Linked DNA regions of Homo sapiens: regions 1, 2 and 4 are each linked to region 3. The links are contacts of gene promoters, found by promoter capture Hi-C in blood cells and fetal thymus (Javierre and others, 2016). All regions are on one chromosome and are shown on one strand. Each heading gives the region's core, a stretch centred on a gene start or on the middle of the fragment in contact. The rest is flanking DNA. Distances are from core to core; before and after follow the strand shown. Region 1 holds the start of LOC124906091 (a long non-coding RNA gene). Region 2 overlaps GORASP2 (golgi reassembly stacking protein 2). Region 3 holds the start of CYBRD1 (cytochrome b reductase 1). Region 4 overlaps TLK1 (tousled like kinase 1).

Region 1 (4,002 bases), core at 934-3,433, 550 kb before region 3:
TTCCTGGGCAGATATCTGTAGCATAAATGAAACACTAATCTCTAGGGAGATTGAGGGACTTTTTTTTTTTTTTTTTTTTTTGGAAACAGGGTCTCGTTCTGTCACCCTGGCTGGAGTGCAGTGGCTTGATCTTGGCTCACTGCAGCCTTGGCCTCCTGGGCTCAAGCGATACCCCCACCTCAGCATTCCACGTAGCTGGGACCACAGGTGTGTGCCACCATGACAGTGAGGGACTCGACACTCGACGAATGGACACAGACTCAGGCTAGATTGGCTCGTTGGATCTTCCCTGAGGTGGAAAATACTTCATTATTTTCTGCTGTCTTCAGAAAAGCCAGTTTCAGTCTTTAACAGTGGTAGATTTGGTACCAGGTTCCAGAAACACGATGTAAGAGAGAGTTTCCCTGACAGTGGGCCACTCTCCGTGGCCTTGTAGGGAGACAGACCAGGGAGTCAGTCCTTAGGGCCAAGGCAGAAGGATTGCTTGAGCCCAGGAGTTGAAGACCAGCCTGGGCAACATAGACCCTGTCTCTACAAAAAATTTAAAAATTAGCTGGGCGTGGTGGCACGTGCCTGGAGTCCCAGCTACTCAGGAGGCTGAGGTGGGAGGATCCCTTGAGCGCAGGAAGTCAAGGCTGCAGTGAACTGTGAGGAAACCATGCAAGGTTAGGAAAAGTCTTGAGTGTTTGTGTGCATGGGGCTGGGGCCTGTGTGCTGGACTAGGGAGTTTGAGCTTTGGCTTAAATACGGCAGTCATGAAGGCTGGAGGGGCAGCACAGTGGGGGACCAGCTTCAGGAGGGACGCTCACCTGAACCCCCTTTGCTAAGACTCTGAGTCTAGGATGACGACTGTGTTACTCTGTTCTGACACTGCTATAAAGAAATACCCAAGACTGGGTAATTTTATAAAGGAAAGAGGTTTAATTGACAGTTTCACGTGGCTGGGCAGGCCTCAGGAAACTTACAATCATGGCAGCAGAAGAGAAGCGCAAGCAGGGGAAATGCCAGAGGCTTAGGAAACCATCAGATCTCGTGAGAACTCACTCTCACGAGAACAGCAGTGGGGAAACCACCTCCATACTCCAATCACTTCCCACCGGATCCCTTCCTCCACACGTGGGGATTATGGGAACTACAGGAAGAGATTTGGGTGGGACACAGCCAAACCATATCAGTGACTTTACCTTTTCCCCTCTGATTTTTGTTCCTGTTTTATTTTTAGTCCATTACTAATTGTGCTTACCTGGGAGCAGCTTAACTTAGCTCATTTTCTGAAAATTCTGGAGACCTAGAAATGGCCTTGTGGCCTCTTCCTCACCTGAAAGGCACCTACTAAAGCTCAAAGATGGCTCTGCCTTGGATGTCCAAAATTTCTGCTTTTGACTATAGTGAAGATGAGACTGGTGAGCTGCTGGAGCTACGGTAGTGACATGGAAGCCCTGATCCCACCTTTAAGGAACCTGTGGTTTAGGCGGGAACATGAGGCAACTTCATGCAAACTGCAGCAAGTGAAGAGTCTCAGCTGAGCAGAGACCTGGAGAGTCTGGGTGAAGGGAACATTCTCTGGCACCTGAAGAAGGCTTAGCCAGACCTACATTTTAGCAGGTGGAGAAGGAGTTAAAAAAATCCAAGCAGGAGCCCTAAGGGAGCTCACAGTAGGAAAGCCATGGGTGTTAAAGCCTCCAGCAGCAGTTGGCTACAGGTGCATTTTATTAGAAAATTTAATACATCTTATTTAAAGGATTTATTTGTGAAAAGTTTTTTCTTCCAGAGAGTGGCCCGATTTTATCAGTAACTTGTGAAGGAAGGTTGGGTCTTCTCCCTGTGACCCTGAAGATGAAGGTCTTCTTTAATTATCTGACTACCCAGCAAGGTTTCAACCCTGTCTTCAGATTAGAATCGCCTCAATTAGAATATTAATTCCTGGGCTCTTGGAGTTTTTAAAAACTTCCCCAGGGAGGGTGGACCTGTAACTGCGGGAGGTAACAGGGGCATAGGAAGGTCATCGTTCTTGCTAGGTGTTTACTTTTACCACTAAGCAAAGTGCACAGGTTAGAGGAGGGATCCTTTTGTCATTTATATATATATATATATATATATATATATATATATATATATTTGCATTAGATCTAGGAAGAACAATTTCCGACTTGGCTAACCAAAGTGTTCCTTTATAGGCCTTTTGCATATCGAGCCAATTGATAAAATGGGGAATTAATGCCACAGCCAGTTATTCAAGCACTAGAACAAGAAGACGTGGAAGGGCAAGTGGGCCCCACTCCCAGCTGGGGGCTGCAGGTGAGGGGGATGGGGAGGGGTGAGGAGAGTGAGAATGTGCAGCAAAAGAGCAGAGGAGTAAGGAGTGCAGACAGGTGCAGATGCCGCCCCACTGCCTCTCCAGGGAGTTACACGAACGTGGGTACTCTGGTCACTGACAGTTTAGAGAAAACGCCACACTGCAGCCATTGATGGAGGTGGGCCTCGGACTTTCAGTGTTACCAGAGTTGAGGTTACACTGTATTTCCTGGCAAGAAATAGATACAAGCCCATGCTCCATGAAGGCCGCTGGGGTTTGGGATAATAACAGTAGCCAGCATGTATTAAGTGTTTCCTGTACATGGGGTGAATAATGAGATAAGACAGTGCTCTGCCCAGCAGACGAGAGGAAGCAAACAGGTTCCCCCTAGGCATGTTTCCTTTGAACTCCCCTGTATATATTAAAATGTGAATTAATTGCCAACATTTAAAAATCAGAAGGTTTCACATAAATCCAGATTTCTGGTTTCTCAAAGTCACAAGATCTGGCAACAGATCAGTCCTACAGGGAAATGAATGCCCCTTGGAGTCTCTGTCCTCCAGTCTCCAATTCCCACAGCCCCACCTGCGTGCGCCAGCCCCCCTCCCACCACCCGCAGGTGTCTGAGTTTGCAGAGCCCTGTGTTATCCTGGTAGTAACACAGCTGAGTCTGGGGAGAGGGGAGGGATAGCTGGGAAACTGAGGTTTCCTTACAGTCAGCGGGGCCAGAACCCGTGGGGACCCAGGATTAGGAAACAAGGTCCTTCACGGATTTCATTATTTAGGATCCAATGAATCGTGTGGAATGGGCACTAAGGTTAGCAAAATTTGAAGTAGTTGCTTAGACTGTAAACCTGATGGAGAAAATGTCCCTGGACAATGACTGGGACAGTAACAGCAATTTGAGTTTCACTAGTCTCTTTTCCTAAAGCCATATTCTGGGTCCCCAACCCATTGATCATTTACCTTAACAACCAACTCTATTGGAATTGATCATTCTCTTTTCCAGAGACCAAGGGTTGTGAATAAGAGTTCATGAATCCCTGACTGGCTTTCTTGCCGTCCACTCTCCATGGCCTTGCTTCCTGGGGAGGGGCCTGTTTGCCCAGCTCTGCCCAGGCTGGCCTGGTTTGAGACCCATACTAAGAAGTCTGCCTGAGGTTCAGGGCAAGCCTCTTCCAGAAGCACTTGAATTATGGTGGCTGGGGGTGGGGTTACAGGAACTTCTCATTTCTTCTCATAAACTTGCATATTGCCAGAATTTTTAAAACCACAATTACTTTTTATTATTTTATTTTACTTTTTTTTTTTTTTGAGATGGAGTCTTGCTCTGTCACCCAGGCTGGAGTGGAGTGGCGCAATCTCGGCTCACTGCAACCTCCCAGGTTCAAGCAATTCTCCTGTCTCAGCCTCCTGAGTAGCTGGGCTTACAGGCATGTGCCACCACGCCCGGCTCATTTTTGTATTTTTAGTAGAGATGGGGTTTCACCATGCTGGTCAAGCTGGTCTTGAACCCCTGACCTCAGGTGATTCACCTGCCTCGGCCTCCCAAAGTGCTGGCATTACAGGCGTGAGCCACCGCGCCAGGCTTCGAATTGCTTTTTTTTGTTTGTTTGTTTGTGTTTTTTTTGAGACGGAGTCTCGCTCTGTCGCCCAGGCTGGAGTACAGTGGCACTATCTCTGCTCACTGCAAGCGCTGCCTGCTG
Region 2 (3,658 bases), core at 411-2,910, 570 kb before region 3:
TTCTATTAATGGTTCAAGATTAGTAAGTTCAACTTTCTGTAGTTTTGTCTATAGTATTTGTAATCTCTCAAAAATGGAATTTTTCAGATGACCTGAGATGGGTATTTATTAGTTACAATCATTATGTGTAGTATGCCAATTTATAGAAATAATCATGTATTAATAAACATTGAAATATCTATAATATTATACCTTATGCTCCACTGATTATCTTAGGGAAGTCTCTAGAATCAGTGGAGTCTTTTATATGTTAAATATTTAATTTTTATAAGCAGAAAGAAATAATTAAGATGTAAAAGATTGCTTTTTAAAGATGTCAGACTTCTGTTGGTTGTTGACAAATGGATTACTAGAAAGATTCATTCTCTCATCTCATTCTCTCAAACTCGTCAGTTTTCTTGGTGCTAAGTTTCACAATATATGAATAATGTTATTAGAACCAGACAGAGAGATGTGCTCCAAAGTACCAAATTAAAACCACTTTTTATACCTTGTTTAGAGTTTACCCATAATAAAGTTCTAAGATAAAGAAATTATATAATCTCAGCAAATTCTTAGGACAGTAGCCACTTGGTTGGTTTAATTTTTCGTAACAGTCTTAAGTTTTCGTTCATTACTTACAACATCTCTGACATATAAATAAAGGCCAACATCTGGCCTTTATTTGTTTATGAAATGAAATATTTAATATGCTGTTTCTACTTTCTTTTCTATCCAGCTCTTAATAAAGCATGTATTTAGAAATAGAGTCCAAAATTAAACGTTAACCCCAGTAAATGTTTTAGATTTTTATAATCAAAGTCATCACAACTTCGTTAGTAATGTGACTTCTTATGGCATATTTTGTTTTTACACATTGAAGCCCTAGATCATTCTAAATAATGTTGGGTTGCAAATTCCATAATCCATAATGAGCTATTAGAAAAAAGTCAGTTTCAAGTTGTTGCTAACGTAAGAGTTCTTAATTTCTTGACATTCTTTTACATAGAAGAAAATTTAAATGTTGGTGAAACCTTTGTTGAATGTTTTATTTATGTTGATTATTAATATTACTCTTATAGGGCCATAGGATGCTTAAGCTAACATTAAATTTTTATTTACTAAGGAATGTGATTTCTATGTGTTCACAGAATAAAGACAATGACACTCTTAAGGATCTGCTGAAAGCAAACGTTGAAAAGCCTGTAAAGATGCTTATCTATAGCAGCAAAACATTGGAACTGCGAGAGACCTCAGTCACACCAAGTAACCTGTGGGGCGGCCAGGGCTTATTGGGAGTGAGCATTCGTTTCTGCAGCTTTGATGGGGCAAATGAAAATGTTTGGCATGTGCTGGTACGTATCAACTGTGAACTGTTACTGGAGGTTCATGAAGCAGTGTGGAAAGATGTTTTAACAATGGTTGTTTCTGGCTTAATAAGATTGTAAGGATATTATTAATAGGCAATTTTTGCCAAAAATCAGCGTTCATTGCTTTTTAAGTATGGATCAATTTTTTTTTAAGTTGAGGAAGAGAAGCAAATGTACAAGTTTAAGAACTTTTTCTAATGATTTATTCATTATAAGATGTGTTAGAGTAGATAGCTACAAAAATATTTTAAATATTTGTTAAATATTATGTAATTTTTATGCTCAGAAGTTTAAAATATATTCTGTAGTTTCTGACATCTGACACATCTCTAGCAAGACAGAAGTATACAGATTTAAAAAATCAACATAATTAAAAATTGGACTATAAACCTTGGAAGATTATTTTATATATATTAATTTTAGGGTGTGTGTTTATGTCATTCTAGGAGGTGGAATCAAATTCTCCTGCAGCACTGGCAGGTCTTAGACCACACAGTGATTATATAATTGGAGCAGATACAGTCATGAATGAGGTAATTCGTGTGTTTATTCATAGTGAGAACTATATAAAATTTTCTCATTGAGGTTTGAGTTGAGAAAGATATTTGCATGCTTTGCATTTAGAGTTAAAATTTCAGTCTTTGCTGATCAAAAATAACTTAAGCCTCAGGGTGTTAAATGGAACATCTGGTAGGTGTCTTATTAGGTATAGCTGTGAGGAAAAACACATACTGTGCGGCAATTGCACAGATTTTATGTGTAATATACAGAAATCTTTGCATACCTGAAGTCTAAATCAAATTCTCATTTTCAATTGTTCATTGATTTCATTTTCTCTTCCCCTTTTTGTTCAGTGACAGCATTAGCTCAGCTATATTACATCCTTTTCCTTGTCTCTTAGCTAGCGGAAGTATACATTGCTAAATCAAAAATGAGAGAAAAGGCTGGGCACAGTGGCTCATGCCCATAATCTCAGCACTTTGGGAGGCCGAGATGGGAGAATTACTTGAGCTCAGGAGTTCGAGACCAGTCTGGGCAGCATAGTGAGACCTTGTCTCTACAACAAATACAAAAATTAGCCAGGCATGGTGGTGCATGCCTATAGTCCCAGCTACCTGGGAGGCTGAGGTGGAAGGATCACTTGAGCCTGAGAGGTTGAGGCTGCAGTGAGGCAAAATCATGCCACTGCACTCTAGCCCAGGCAACAGTTAGAGAGACCCTGTCTCAAAAAAAGAAGAAAAAAAAAAGAGTGAGAAATGAGGTGCCCAGACAACCAGGTCTTAATAATGGGAAGTAAAAGCAGAATATGTAGAACTCGGGTGTAAAAGAATTGTACTAAGAGTGCCAACTAGATCTTAAGGAACTGGCCATAAAGCCTTGTATGTAGTAAGTAGGCTTTGCTTGAATTAATATATTGAATTAAACCTGCTTGTGATTTTTATGTCTGGGGCAGGGCCCAGAATCTGTATTTTTTTCTTAGATTTCTCAGGTGATTCTGATAGCCAGGTTTGAGACACACTGTTCCAAAGTATGGTAACGTGAAACATTTTCTCCTGTGACACTTTTGCAGTCTGAAGATCTATTCAGCCTTATCGAAACACATGAAGCAAAACCATTGAAACTGTATGTGTACAACACAGACACTGATAACTGTCGAGAAGTGATTATTACACCAAATTCTGCATGGGGTGGAGAAGGCAGGTAAGGTCATTTTTTAGACTAAGTTATGACTGCTTAAACATACCAGTCAGATATGTTGCAGACATTGATTGTTTTTATTTTGAAAGAAATTACTGGTTTATTTTAAGACTCCTCTTAAAAAAAAGGGAAGAGCTAGTCTAGAATATTGAAACCAATTTTTTTAAAGTACATATCTAGGGAACATAGTATATATACTATAGTCCTTTTCTTTACTAACCTAAGAGCTAACAGCATTTCTTTTTAATTGAGAAATTATTGCGCATAAGCCATAATTATAGAAAAGCCTAGAATTTGGAAACATTCCACATGTTTTCAAAAGTTCTAATCCCATGCTGGGAAAAGGATAACTTAGTTGCTGCAGGCAGGAAAAGCTTCCGTTTGCTCACAGTATCTTTACCCACACTACCTGAGATTCTCCAGCTGAATGTTTCGCCACAAGTATTCTAACTTGTTGCAGTTTGAGAAAAGTAAGATAGATGTGTCATCCAAGAGTCTGGCCTATATGGGGCAATACTTGATCAAATTATCATTGTCCATTGCCCAGGTTTGTAAATGCCCAGAAATAGGATCTATTCGAGGCATTCAAAATTTATTCATTACAAGAGGCA
Region 3 (4,167 bases), core at 1,307-3,806:
AGGGAAATTTAGAGGCAGTGGCGTGGGTAGGAAGTGGTCAGAAGCTGCCAGAGCAGTTTACAGCCAAGGACATCAGGGCCAGTCAGGTTGTGGTAAGAGACTGGCAGGGGGTGCTAGGCTGGACCAGATCAAAGAAAGCCTTGTGCTGGGGAAAGGTATCCTTCTCTTCCATTTGCTTACTCTCCCCACCAAGGGAAAAATAATGACACAGGTGAGGTCTACAGCCTTTTACTCTGAGCCCTTAATCCTGCCCTACTACCATGGCTTGCCACTCCTATTTCCTTAGCCTGCTTTGAAAATCATCCCCGTATACTTCCTGCACATTCTAAGGTCTTTCAAGACGGCAACAAGACAATATAGCAAAGTAGTCCTTGGAGATGAGCTACAGAAGAGGGCTAGAAGTGAACGTTCCCAAATGCATTCTGGAAGCCCTGGCAGTCAGAACCCTTTTTCTTATAATAGCATTAGATAATGCTGACATTGTTTTTGTCCAGTGGAGAAGGGTGAGGATAATGTTGGAAAGAGGGCAGGGAGCAAGCTTCACTTCATCAAGGAGGGGCTTTGGTTCAAATTGGTTTGGGTGGGCGGGCACTTTGAAAATCCATTTGTCACACTAAACGGCAAGTCCAGGTCCAGGAGGTTCCTGTCTTCCCTCTCTCAAGAGCAAACTGCAAGTAGTTTCATTGCAGGATAAGGCCAAGCCCACCGCTGCCCATGCTGTTTTTGTTTTGTTTCCAGACAGAGTCTAGCTGTCACCAGGCTGCAGTGCAGTGGTGCGATCATACCTCTCCTGAGCTCAAGTGATTCTCTTGCCTCCACCTCCCAAAGCCCTGGGATTACAGCTGTGAGACACCTCATGGGGACCCGGTTTACTGGGTTTTTTTTGTTTTTTGTTTTTTGTTTTTTTTTGAGACAGAGTCTCACTTTGTCACCCAAGCTGAAGTGCAGTGGTGCAACCTCAGCTCACTGCAGCCTCGACCTTCTGGGCTCAAGTGATCCTCCTTCCTCAGTCCCCCAAGTAGCTGGGGCTACAGGTGCATGCATTTGTATTTTCAGTAGAGACAGGGTTTCACCTTGTTGCCCAGGCTGTTCTCAAACTCCTGGACTCAAGTGATCTGCCCGCCTTAGCCTCCCAAAGTGCTAAGATTACAGGTGTGAGGCACTGCGCCTGGCCTTTACTGTTAACTTAAAACAAAAAATTATAAATTTGAAAAAAGAGGAGACTTTATTTCTTATAAAAGGTTATAGCCTGCAAGGAGGCCATTCCATAGGCTGATAAACATAGCCTCTGGCCTAAGACCAGAGACAGGCACTTGGAAGGCAGAGGGGTTGGGGTAGGAGCTTTATGCTGAACAGTTTGGCCAAACATACATACGTAACAGGTTACAGGAGGAGCTATGAATATTAATGGAGGTGGTCCTTACACATGCATATTGAACAAACATGCATGTAACATGTTCTCTTTGGGGTGGAGACTTAACATTTAATTGTATTACTTCAAATACATTTAAATGTATTACTTCAAACCTACACTTCAAAAGGTCTTTTCAGGACGTGAATGCATACAAGTGCACAATCCCTGTACACTGGCCAGAACCGGTCCATGGTCGGTCTTCTTATCATGAAAAAGTTCCTGAAATCAGCCCAGTGAAAGCTGTAGTTCTGGCTGGTGCAACAGGGGTTCAGCTGGTCAGCATCTGTGAACTGATTAAGTTGTAATTGTTTTAATATTGCTTATCTCAAGCCAGTGCTTGTTTAGCCTCTAGAGGAAAAGAAAACCTTTGTGGCAGTTAGACCATAGTTTATTTCTTAAGTGTAGGAGTGTGTGACTTAGGTCCTTTTTATAATTTGATGTCTTATTGCTACAAAGAGTCTGTTCTGTCCGCCTTATGATTTCTATTTTAAACATTAATGCTAGTCAGCTGTTGAGTCTAAATTCCAAAATGGAGGGGGTAGACTTCCCTTCCGGCTGTAGCTAGAAACTCAGCTTTAAGGTTTTTCTGGGGTCTGCTTGGCCAAGGAGGTCCATTCAGTCAGTGAGGGGCTTAGGATTTTATTTTTAGTTTACACCACCTTACAGGTTCCTCCTTAACACCCTTTGATGTCAGAGACAGCCAATTCTCCAGCACTGTGGCTAAGGAGGCTTCGTTAGTAGTTAAAAGCACACACATAACCCTACCCAACGGATCCCTCTCTTCTCTTAACCAAGAGGGCGCACCACTGCCCTACTCAACCTCCCCACAAATAAGGACGAGACACGGGAAGTGTTAAAAGCAAGTGGTGAGTATAAAATCCTCGGAATTTTCTCTTTGAGCAACTAACTAGGTCTGTTACTGAAGCCCTCTGCGAGCTTGGATGCTGGACGAGGGAGAGGGTGAGGCCACCAGGCAATGAGCGCCCTCGGCGGCCGCGTGATCCCGGGGGTGGGGCCCATTTCTGAGTTGGGGCCAGCTCCCCACCCCCAAGAGGCCCCACATTCCGGGCCAGCAGCCCAGAAAGTCCCTCCCCGCAGGCGGAGACAGCCCCAAGAAGTCGACGCCCCGGTCCCGCCGCCCGGCCACTACCCAGAGGGCTGCCGCCGCCTCTCCAAGTTCTTGTGGCCCCCGCGGTGCGGAGTATGGGGCGCTGATGGCCATGGAGGGCTACTGGCGCTTCCTGGCGCTGCTGGGGTCGGCACTGCTCGTCGGCTTCCTGTCGGTGATCTTCGCCCTCGTCTGGGTCCTCCACTACCGAGAGGGGCTTGGCTGGGATGGGAGCGCACTAGAGTTTAACTGGCACCCAGTGCTCATGGTCACCGGCTTCGTCTTCATCCAGGGCATCGGTACTGGCACCTCCTGGGGGGGTGCGGGGAGGAAAGCGGGGAGAACGGCGGGGGCAGAGGGTCCTCCGTGAAGCCCCTTCCAGCTGAGGAAGTGCTGGAGGATCGCGGGGCCCGGAGGAGTGCGGTGAGGAGCGCGCGGGAAGCCAAGTCGGCTGGGCGGGAGGGAGGCTGGCTGGCTCTGGGGCGGGACAGAGCTGCGGTTCAGGAGGATCGCCGCGAGCGCGGGGCCGGGGGTGCGCGGTGGAGACGCGCTGCTGGGGGCGGCGGAGCGGGGCCGGCCCCACTTGGTTAACTCTTTGCGGCGACTGGCTAGGACGCACTGGAGGGGCCTCCAAGACCCAGAAACTTGAGCCCGGGCGCGATGCCGGAGCGCCGCGCAGTCGGGCCGCTGCAGCCCACGCGCCCCGGAAAGTCGCCCCTGTGGACCGAGCCTGCGCGATCGGGGGCGCGGAAACACTTTCGCCTCAGCCTTTTGCTGAACTTGCTTCCAGGCTGCAGATGAGGAGGGGAAGGCAGCGGGGAAAAGATTGCCGGAGCGAGAATTTGCCCGTATTTGTAACATCCTCGGCCCTGGGTAAAGGGGCTGGCCAAGGGGGGCGAGTGAAGCATCCGCCCTGGGTTCCTCTCCTCCTAGAGTGTTAAACTCAGTCGAGTCCGGGAAGCTGCCAGGACTTCCAAGTGTGTTTCGCCGCCCTGCCCAGTCATTGGACGGTCTTGAGCCCGACTTGTTTATGTGGCAGAAGAGTGGCGAAAGTTCCCCCGCGGGGCTTCCTATTGGGCACTGGCCCAGCACTCCGGGTGGGAGATGCCCGGAGAGGGCCCGCGGCTGCCTGGCACCGAGGGATGCCTCTGCTCGGGATGCCCCCGGCGCAAGCTGCGTCCGTGTTTGGCCCGCGGCGAGCCAGCCCCGGGCCTGCATTCTCTGGGCTGAGGCTGGCGCGGGGGAGGGGCTCAGCAGTCGCTGGCAATGTTTGTTGTCATTGTGTAGTGCCTCTCAATGTCCTGACTGCTTCCTTCGGTTTGCCGTGTAGCTGGAGGAACCTCTAGCTTTTGGCGCAAACACCATTTATTTGTAACCACTTCCCCAAAGGCACGGCCTTCAGAAAGTAGTTAGAGAAAGGCAGCAAGGGGTGGAGTGGTGTTATGTCGCAGAAAATAATCGAGAGGAGTAGCAAGGGTTTGGAAAGATATGCCCACTGGCCGAAATCTCTAGCTTTGCCTGCGGGCAGGCTGCCTTTTCTTCACCAAATATTTAACTCCCCACAAACGAGTGTGCAAAAGAGTGCTGACCTCATTCCTAAAGAAAAGTGATTTTGGCTTTTGTTTTTGTTGGTTGTTTTAAACTT
Region 4 (3,680 bases), core at 965-3,464, 510 kb before region 3:
GTATTTATATCATCAACACAGGATGGGGAAAGAGAAAGCAAGCATATCTTTCCTTAAAAATTGAACCTTAATATTCACTTACGTATCTGTATCCAAGGAGAAATAATCATAGAGTTTAACTATTCTGGGGTGATCCAGTTCTTTGTGTATTCTATACTCTCTGCAGGCATGTCTATGAGAAGACAGTGTATTAATTCTCCATGATCATTCAAAAAATATTCAATTTTAAAAAACCATAAAGTATTAGTATTTACTTGTGGTAGTTTTCTTTCTTCTCATCTCTCCAGCTTTTATTAAGCTGATGTATCTTCACAGCAGCATATCTTTGTTCATAAAGGTCAAAAGCCTAGGATTTCAAGTCAAAAACAATTAAGATGAAAGACCAATTGAATAGCTGAAGAGATGTTTTTTATTTTGGTGATAATTTTTGCAATAATATGGAATTAGGACAAACCCTACAATTATTAATGATCTTCTCTGCTAAGACTATATATAGCTCAATGACACTTTTATTATCAGAAGACAGAAATTCCATGGTAATAAATCAGAGAAAACCTTAATGTGAATTTTCACATTAAATTTTATAAATGCCAATATACTGAATAAAAATAAAACAATAAAGCTATTATTTGTTTTTAATATGGACTTATTCCTCTATACTAGTAGTAAGCAGCCAGGAAAACAGATGACTGTACCACTTTTTTTGTAGGTTGGATAAAACCTTTTAAATCTATCTTTTCCTAGCAACCCCCTATTTCTTTCTCACTTTTTAGAAAAATTAAAAAGTTCCTAACAGTTATTTTTCCAACTGTTGAAAAAAACTCGTTATTATAAAACTGTTCAAACATATACACAAGTAGACTACTATAATGTGCCCTTATGCCCCTACCATCCAGTTTCAAAAATTACCAATATGTTGCCATTCTTGTTTCATCTATTCCCTAGTACCCTTGCATCCCACCCTTCCCAACCAGAGTATTATTAAAACAAATACATTATTTCTCCCAGTAAACACATCAGTATTTAAATAAAAATAACCACATACCATTATCACACCTAACTACATCAGTAATAATTCCTTCATCTCATCTAATACCTAACCTGTCTTCAATTTTCCCTGGTTGTCTCAAAAAGAATTTATACTTGATTTGTTCAAATCACCAGCCTATTTCTTAAATTAAAAACACAGAATGATCAGTATTTTAACAGCTTTACATGACTTATGTTTTTTTAAAAAGCAATGAATACCATTAAAGAGACATTTAATAATTTTGGTTCCATTGTGATTTACACACAAAGGTGCCCCTTTCACTTAAAAGCTTACGTATTTATTAGAAAGAAGGTCCCCATTTCCTCCCATCAATTTAACCTAAAAATAAGCAGGAAGGGATAAGCAGTAAAGTGACTACTTTGGTACAAAACTATAAAAGTATGAGATCAGATATAATATAGCACACAGTTGTTAAGAATATTCTGTTTGCAATCAGATTAGCTTATTAGCTGAGTGACTCTGTGCTAATACCCTCTCTGAGCCCCAAAAGTTAGGGTTATTGAGAGGATTAAATGGGGGTAAAACATATGAGGTGTTTAGAATAATACATGGTACGGCCAAGAAACATTAGCTAATTACATATTATTATTAAGGGTTAAGTGTAAAGAAACTGAGAAGAATAAAAATAAAGTAAGTTTATATAAGGGACAAGGCGGAACAAATCTATAAAGAATTCAAGGCAATCATAGTAAAGGATAATTGAAGAAAAAACTAAGCAAGCAATAAAAAGTTATTATCAGAGTATACTGATTATAATAAATTATATGTAACACATCTTCCTCCCAAAATTTCAGGTGAGTAGAAGTATACCTTTCCATAAGGTTAATATGGCAATCACTCAGCAACTGACTCAACATCTCCCATCCTGGTATAAAATACAACTCTTTACTTCTTGACTTACAATCTGCTTTTTGTCTAGTTGTTTCCCAACAGAACTGGCAATCATGAAAGGGCTTTAAAGGGCTTAGAGAATGATGTCACTAGTATTTAGGTCAGTATAGAAAGTTCAAGTCACTGGGCCCCAATCTGCACTTTCTAATCTCTATGTAAGCCTCTTCTACAAAAGTCCTCACCTATGAGGGTAAAATAGTTATTTAAAATACAACCAGGCAGTAGCAGAGGGTTGTTATGAAGGCTCATGGTAAGTTCATAAGCTCAACAACTTTTAGGCCACGCTAATGCTAACTGCACTTTTAGTGACTTTTAGATCCCAGCTGAACTATCATGATAATCTTTTCTACCTTATGGTAAGCCTACTTCACCCATTAAGTGCTTAAGGATAAACTATTATTAGAATCAGAGAAACAGGAATTGGAAGAGAGCCCAAAGATCACTTTTGATGAATGAGGAAGGTGAGGACCCTGACGTGTAATGCTTATCTAAGTTAACAAAAAATAGTGCATGGTTGAACTGATACCAGAACTGAAGTTCTCTTAACTCAAATCCCATAATTTTTCCAAGTCAGAAGCAGAAACGAGAAGGGTGTAGTCTTTGTCCCATGCAACAGTCAGGATTTCTTTTCCTTTTTTTTTTTTTTTTTTTTTTTTTTTTGAGAGAAAATGTCTCCCTCTGTCCCCCAGGGTGGAGTGCAGTAGCACAATCTTGGCTCACTGCAACCTCCCACCACCAAGGTTCAAGCGATTATCATGCCTCAGCCTCCGAGTAGCTGGAACTACAGGCATGTGCCATCATGCCTAGCTAATTTTTTTCTTGTATTTTTAGTAGAAACGGGTTCGCCATGTTGCCCAGACTGGTCTTGAACTCCTGAGTTCAGGCAATCTGCCTGCCTTGGCCCCACCAAGTGCTAGGATTACAGGTGTGAGCCATGGCCAACAAGCAGGATTTCTAATAATCTTATCAGCTTATCTCAGCACCTATGTTCTATATGATTTACATGTGATAACTCAGTTAATCACTGCAACAACCCTATAATGTAGGTATTGTTATTATTCTCAGAAGGAGCCAATGAGTCAGACAGGGATTTAAATAAGAAGCCCAAATTAATAAAATTAGTAAATAGCAGTCAGGATTTAAACCTAGCTGTCTGGCTTCAGAACCAAAGCTTTTAACCAACTATGCCAGTACGTAATGAAGCACAAAGGAGCTTATAAAAAGGCACACCAAATCTATCAGAGAAGATGCAGAGGGTCAGGGAAGCTGTTTAGAGGAACTAAAGATGAGCATATAACCCTTCACTAGGACTTCATCCCAAGAGCAAATGGGAAGCTACTGGGGCTTTCAAGTAGGACAGATGATCAGGCTGCCTTTTATAAAAAGTTCACTCTAGTTGCAGTGTACAAAATGACTTGAGAAAAGCAATGCCCAAAAGAAGACAATCAGCTATGAGGTTCCGGAAGAAGCCTTGAGCTAAGAGACAGAAGGGAAGGGTCATGGCTGAATTTAGGAGAACTTAATGACATTAATAATAGCAGGAACTAGGGGCTTATAATATGTGAGGGGAGGGGAACAAAGGGAAAGGAAGAGCATACGATGGTTTTTGTGTTTTTTCACTTGAGGGACCAGGCAGATGAATGGCAATGTTATATACTGAGGTCAGGGAAGTCAGAAGCAGTGTTAAAAGACATTTTAGAGGAGAGGAAGATAACTTCTATTTCAAATGTGAGTTTCC

The links. The method cuts DNA at HindIII sites, captures the fragments that hold promoters and counts their contacts. A CHiCAGO score of 5 or more calls a contact.
Region 1: a fragment that was not itself captured here is called in contact with the fragment with the promoter of CYBRD1 in region 3 in 1 of 17 cell types (megakaryocytes); the score reaches 7.1 in megakaryocytes.
Region 2: a fragment that was not itself captured here is called in contact with the fragment with the promoter of CYBRD1 in region 3 in 2 of 17 cell types (erythroblasts and megakaryocytes); the score reaches 5.7 in erythroblasts.
Region 4: a contact is called between a fragment that was not itself captured here and the fragment with the promoter of CYBRD1 in region 3, in 1 of 17 cell types (erythroblasts). The highest score is 5.8, in erythroblasts.

What each region holds. Positions count from the first base shown.
Region 1 is chr2:170,967,762-170,971,763 of GRCh38, forward strand. LOC124906091 (a long non-coding RNA gene) reads left to right here and starts at 150. Exons shown (of 3, transcript XR_007087293.1): 1 at 150-1,702; 2 at 2,178-2,298. The HindIII fragment of the contact is 4,971 bases long and covers 1-4,002 here.
Region 2 is chr2:170,948,409-170,952,066 of GRCh38, forward strand. GORASP2 (golgi reassembly stacking protein 2) reads left to right here. Exons shown (of 10, transcript NM_015530.5): 2 at 1-22; 3 at 1,131-1,334; 4 at 1,796-1,882; 5 at 2,920-3,050. Among named protein-coding and RNA genes, the nearest start is that of GORASP2, 21 kb to the left of the region's middle. The HindIII fragment of the contact is 3,518 bases long and covers 1-3,419 here.
Region 3 is chr2:171,519,918-171,524,084 of GRCh38, forward strand. It overlaps CYBRD1 (cytochrome b reductase 1), which reads left to right and starts at 2,557. Exons shown (of 4, transcript NM_024843.4): 1 at 2,557-2,821. The coding sequence starts at 2,629. RefSeq lists an enhancer at 2,646-2,755 and silencers at 2,866-2,975, 3,126-3,195. The HindIII fragment of the contact is 3,994 bases long and covers 537-4,167 here.
Region 4 is chr2:171,006,718-171,010,397 of GRCh38, forward strand. It overlaps TLK1 (tousled like kinase 1), which reads right to left. Exons shown (of 21, transcript NM_012290.5): 15 at 255-346; 16 at 83-172. Among named protein-coding and RNA genes, the nearest start is that of GORASP2, 79 kb to the left of the region's middle. The HindIII fragment of the contact is 1,794 bases long and covers 1,318-3,111 here.